Linked DNA regions of Homo sapiens: region 1 is linked to region 2. The links are contacts of gene promoters, found by promoter capture Hi-C in blood cells and fetal thymus (Javierre and others, 2016). All regions are on one chromosome and are shown on one strand. The core of a region is centred on a gene start or on the middle of the fragment in contact, and the rest is flanking DNA. Distances in the headings are between cores, read along the strand shown. Region 1 overlaps NAE1 (NEDD8 activating enzyme E1 subunit 1). Region 2 holds the start of CMTM2 (CKLF like MARVEL transmembrane domain containing 2).

Evidence for each region. The method cuts DNA at HindIII sites, captures the fragments that hold promoters and counts their contacts. A CHiCAGO score of 5 or more calls a contact.
Region 1: a fragment that was not itself captured here is called in contact with the fragment with the promoter of CMTM2 in region 2 in 1 of 17 cell types (activated CD4 T cells); the score reaches 6.0 in activated CD4 T cells.

The regions. Positions count from the first base shown.
Region 1 is chr16:66,808,338-66,811,037 of GRCh38, forward strand. It overlaps NAE1 (NEDD8 activating enzyme E1 subunit 1), which reads right to left. Exons shown (of 20, transcript NM_003905.4): 14 at 2,360-2,435; 15 at 2,037-2,076; 16 at 652-738; 17 at 184-276. Among named protein-coding and RNA genes, the nearest start is that of TERB1, 8.1 kb to the left of the region's middle. The HindIII fragment of the contact is 222 bases long and covers 1,181-1,402 here.
Region 2 is chr16:66,578,065-66,580,764 of GRCh38, forward strand. CMTM2 (CKLF like MARVEL transmembrane domain containing 2) reads left to right here and starts at 1,399. Exons shown (of 4, transcript NM_144673.3): 1 at 1,399-1,828; 2 at 1,962-2,120. The coding sequence starts at 1,544. It overlaps CKLF-CMTM1 (CKLF-CMTM1 readthrough), which reads left to right. Exons shown (of 4, transcript NM_001204099.2): 4 at 767-1,071. The coding sequence ends at 937. CMTM1 (CKLF like MARVEL transmembrane domain containing 1) reads left to right here. Exons shown (of 4, transcript NM_052999.4): 4 at 767-1,071. The coding sequence ends at 937. The HindIII fragment of the contact is 2,154 bases long and covers 873-2,700 here.

The DNA.
Region 1 (2,700 bases), core at 42-2,541, 230 kb after region 2:
CTATTTTGCAAATAGTTAAACTTAAAAAACAAAAGGTGGTTCTTCACTGGGGAACGTTTGGGGTGTAATCTGTTTACAATGTGAAATTCAAGCAACACTATTATAAATACCCTGAGAACACTTTCAATTTAAATGTTTTATTGAAGATCTTATTATATCTGGTAATTCAATTGCTATTCTTACCTGGATATCTACCCTGTTGTTTATGAAATCTATCAACAGCCCGTAACATTAAGTACAACACTATTTCATTATCTGGATTGTCCATGCTAGAAACTGAAAGGAAAAAAAATTTCAGTTTAATTTGGTTAATTTGCAATGTAACAAACAATGAAGGGCTGAATTTACTATATACTTGAGTTTCAGGACTATTAACTGGAGTCACACAATCTCTACTGAAGTAGTAACATACTGACTTTAACTCATACATATCACACAATGGACTCAGTGACCTAAATATGACTTTATGCATACATTAAGTTTCATATAATATATAAATTATAATTACCTAGATAAGCTTAGAATAAAATTAGAATATGTTTACGTTATCTTTAATATCATCACCATATACTCAACACTATTATACACAAAATATTTATATCTTTTAAATTAATTAAAATTAACCCAGAATCAGAAGGCTATTATACTTACTAATTTCATCCTTGTTAATTGTATCCAAACCATATTCTTCAGCTAAGGATCGACATCTTACCACTCGAAGAAATGCAGAATTGCTGCCTGAACAGAGGAAAGATATTCTGGAAGTAATGACTGTGACTGGTGAATATTATGAATCACAGGTGACTTTAAGAACAGAGAATTATGTGTATACCCTTCTCAGACATGAGAATGTGAAGAAATGTTTTCTCCTTGGTTCTAATAGCAGAGAAAGCACTAGAACATGAATCACCTTAAATTTATATCCCTGGCACTACAACCAGTTCAGAAGCAAGTAAGGTGATGGCCTCTCTGAACCTCAGTTTTCAAGTGTAAAATGGGGATGATACTGTTTACCTTTGAGAATTGTTCTACAGATTAAATGTGACATCTGTATAAAGTGCATCTCTAGCACAATGCCTGATATGGCTCTAAAAATAATAGTTTTCATCATTATTATGGATAAGTAGTCCTAAAGGAGAGAGGTTTATGAATTGTACTCTTGATATATGTAATGACTTTAAGCTTTGTATTATTGAAATTTTCAAAAACGCCCCAAAGTAGAACAGAATAATAAATGTTCAAATACCCAGCATCAAACTTGTGATCTAGTATTATATAATCTAATACAACAAACGCTAATTCAAGATTAGTCTAATAGAACAAACAAGGTGCAAGATTAGTAGTGGCAGAAAACATTAAAACCGAGCCTAAACAGACATTGTGGAGAAGTCATAAAATGGAAAGCTTGGATAAATCTATTTTAAGGATGGGGAGCATGCAAAATATAAACTTCCACAGGACGTAGGAGCAGTAGCTACAGGGAGAAATCTTCAGATGGCATGCACAACAGATTGGGTATTTTGAAACTGACTCTTAAATAAAAGAAAATGCTTTTGGCCTACTGAGGAGTTACTGAGAAGACTCCTACGAACCTAACCACTCCGAAACTAGATGGCAAAATTCTTAACTCCATTACAGTCATTTAACACAGATCAAAATGAGTATTTAAACCAATATTGTCAATGTACATGTGACTCAAGACTTCACACCCAAAGTCTTCAGACAAAAAAACTTCCTAAATTACTTAAAATTTAAAAACTGAAAATCCTGTATTAATGGCAATTTTCAATTAACTGACCGTCAAGCCTTTTTAGCATTGCCACAGATAAACATGTTCTACCTCTGATTCAGTCTTAAAATACTCGCCATGTATTGTATTATGAGAGGAAAAAAAAAACCTTACCCAATAATTATCTATATCTATATCACTGAGGCCATGGAAAACTTAAAATTTCAACCATTCAAAATACCTGGGAACATTCCCTGTGGCACATTTCTATCAAGCAAAATAAGGAAATTAATTCAAGGGGACTTACAGAGTAATTTTAATTCTTTCTCTGAAATGGACTCTGGTGCCTGTAAAGAGATAAATACAGATTCTGTTCCAGTTTAAAAGAGAAGATTAACAAAGGGTGCGGCACAAAGCCAATCACTGTGAGATGGGAAGGCTTTCTCCAAGAGCTGGGAGAGCACTTTAAAAATATCTTGTTTCCTTATCACAAGCTATCCCATTAGGCAGGGAAATGACAGCTCCCTCTAAAGAAGCACAGAGGCAGTGCCACACCCTCTGTCTCTAAACCCTTTCTGGCTGGAGTTACGTGCTGAGGCCTGTATGGGCACAGTGTGCCCAGTAGCTTACCTGGCCAATGGACTGCAGCAATTTGGCAACATGATTACCCACAGCGGCAGCATCTTTCTTTGCTTTTTCACGGTAACTAAAAAAGAATAAAAAGCAATTACTAACAAATTTTTAAATTAGCAAAATTTAAATTGTTACCATGAACAAAAATTTTCTTTCCTTTTCATGAAAAAACACAGGTCTGACAATGTATGAAATGTGAAAATGCCAGGGAAATGCTATCAACAGCACCATGAGTAGCTGGGAATCTTTCCAGTGTTAGTGACGGACTCTCAGTGCCCACTAAAACCCAGGGTCCCTCTAACAGCACCCAACTTAAAAACTGCTCCCCTAGAGGGATC
Region 2 (2,700 bases), core at 149-2,648:
AGTGACCATAAAGAGAAACATCCAAGGTTGTCAAGAGTCCCGGAGTGCACAGGGGAATATCTGTGCCATCAGCCCCTGGTCCCCATCGGCTGACTCCGCTATCACTCCTTCTACTGCCAGGGGTTCCCACCCCCAGGTATCCATTTCTTACCTGGATGGCAGCATCCCACCCCACCACGCACTGGTCTTCCTGCCTCCAGCCTGGTTCACCTTCCATTCACCTCATGAACACTGCAAGCAGGTTTTCTGAATCTCACACCTGACCTCCTGATAGAGTCCCAGATCCTGCACCTCTCCAGCCTCAACTCTGCCCCCTTCTCAGCGGCTCTGGAGGTCCTGGCCACACCAGATTCCTTAGAGACCCTAGTCCAGTGCCTGGGTCCTCCTCCTCCCCTTAGGAACTCCTTCCTGCCCTTTGCAAACATAGCCCAAAAGTCTTTCCACGGAGAGGGCTTCTCAGGACCTAACCCCTACCTGCAGCCACCTAGGGCCACTGCCCTTCCCTAGTCCTTTCCGGGTGCCTCAGACATCAAGCGAGGCTACTACTGGCAACAAAATCCCCCACTTCCAAAATCCCTTTTTCTGGGAAAGGCAGAATCCGCCTGCAGCAGCCAATTGGGCAGGCGCCAAGAAAGTAGTGAAGGGTCAGAGGGGACAGGAGGCCACCCGCAGCGCCCACCCTGGATAGGGATAGGTTCGAGAGGTTGCTACTGAGCTGCAAAATAACCCCGTCTTTCCTTCCCGCATATGGTCTTGTATCTGACAGTCCCTGTGTCTCACAGCGGTAATCGTGTGTTGCATCGATGCGTTTGTGGTCACCACGAAGATGAGGACCAACTTGAAAAGATTCCTGGGAGTCGAAGTTGAAAGGAAGCTTTCCCCCGCCAAGGACGCCTACCCCGAAACCGGCCCCGACGCCCCGCAGAGGCCCGCCTGAAGCCAGCCCGGCGCCCTAGCAGATGCACGTGTCTGTCGAATCGCTGCCTCCGAGCCCACCCCCGAGCTCGCATGCTGTCACCCATTCCAGCCTAAATGTGACCATAAAATTAGGGCTGCTGCTTTTATCGAGAACACCTGCTTCCTCTCGTTGCCTTGTGTGAAAGTCGCGTTGTATTTTCCTGCGCTTGGCGCTGCGCCCGCGGAGCTCAGGGCCGTGACCCGGTGCTCGCAGCCCCCCGACCCCGCAGCGGAGCGGCGGCTTACAGACCTGGGGCCACCTGGAGACGCCGGGATGGGACCGCGAGGGCAGCTCCGCGCGGAGGTGGGACCGGCGGGTTGGGAACGGAGTTGGGGCCCGTCGGGGGCCGGCGCGTGGAGGGTGGGAGGATCCGGCCGCTGCCGGGCGGATGGGAGCTGCGCGAGGAGACGGGCGCGCGTGGAGAGGGCGCGGGAGTTGGCATTCGGTGGTCCTGGCAGTTAGCTGAGCACGCCCTCTGAGCCGCTCGGTGGACACCAGGCACTCTAGTAGGCCTGGCCTACCCAGAAACAGCAGGAGAGAGAAGAAACAGGCCAGCTGTGAGAAGCCAAGGACACCGAGTCAGTCATGGCACCTAAGGCGGCAAAGGGGGCCAAGCCAGAGCCAGCACCAGCTCCACCTCCACCCGGGGCCAAACCCGAGGAAGACAAGAAGGACGGTAAGGAGCCATCGGACAAACCTCAAAAGGCGGTGCAGGACCATAAGGAGCCATCGGACAAACCTCAAAAGGCGGTGCAGCCCAAGCACGAAGTGGGCACGAGGAGGGGGTGTCGCCGCTACCGGTGGGAATTAAAAGACAGCAATAAAGAGTTCTGGCTCTTGGGGCACGCTGAGATCAAGATTCGGAGTTTGGTGAGCTAAACTGGTATCCCTGGGTGGGGGGCCTTGGCCGAGGGTGGGGGGAAGGAGGAGTAGGCTCCAGGGGTCCTCAGAGAGATGGTGAAAGGCCCTTGCTGCTGGCTCAGGTGTCTATGTCTCACTGCAGGGCTGCCTAATAGCTGCAATGATACTGTTGTCCTCACTCACCGTGCACCCCATCTTGAGGCTTATCATCACCATGGAGATATCCTTCTTCAGCTTCTTCATCTTACTGTACAGCTTTGCCATTCATAGATACATACCCTTCATCCTGTGGCCCATTTCTGTAAGTAAGGGGTGATGGGGAGTGCCTGCATCCAGAATGCTGATCAGGTGTGTCTTGGCACCTGGAAAGTCACCAAACAGAGAGACACACCTCACCTCCCATATCTGTGCCTGGGTCAGGGACTCAGAACATCAGTGGGGCCCAGGCAGAGGCAGCTGGGTGCAAGAGGGGTAGCTAGGCAGAAAATGCTCCAAAAAGCCTATCTGTGTGTTGGAGTGAGAGTGGGGAACTCTTACTTACCTGGTGGTCAAAGAGGGCCTGAGCCTTTGTTCTCTTTAGGGGAAGGGGAGGTGTAGCAACCAGCTGTTCCTCCGAACTCCTGTGCCAGCTCACACTTGACAGGAGATCACCCCAGAAGGACCCCATTCCCAAAATTCAAAGAAGAAAATTACTCTCCCATAAGTCAATAAAATAAAACAAAATGGGAATTTTTTTTAAAAATCACTTCTAAAGCAGCGTTAGGTCTCCAGTGAATATCCCTATAAAGGATGTTTGGATCAGAAGGATGTTCAGCCCAAAGCAGTCATCTAGTGGAAAGAGACAGAACTGGGCAAGTTACTAAACCATTCCCAGCCTGTTT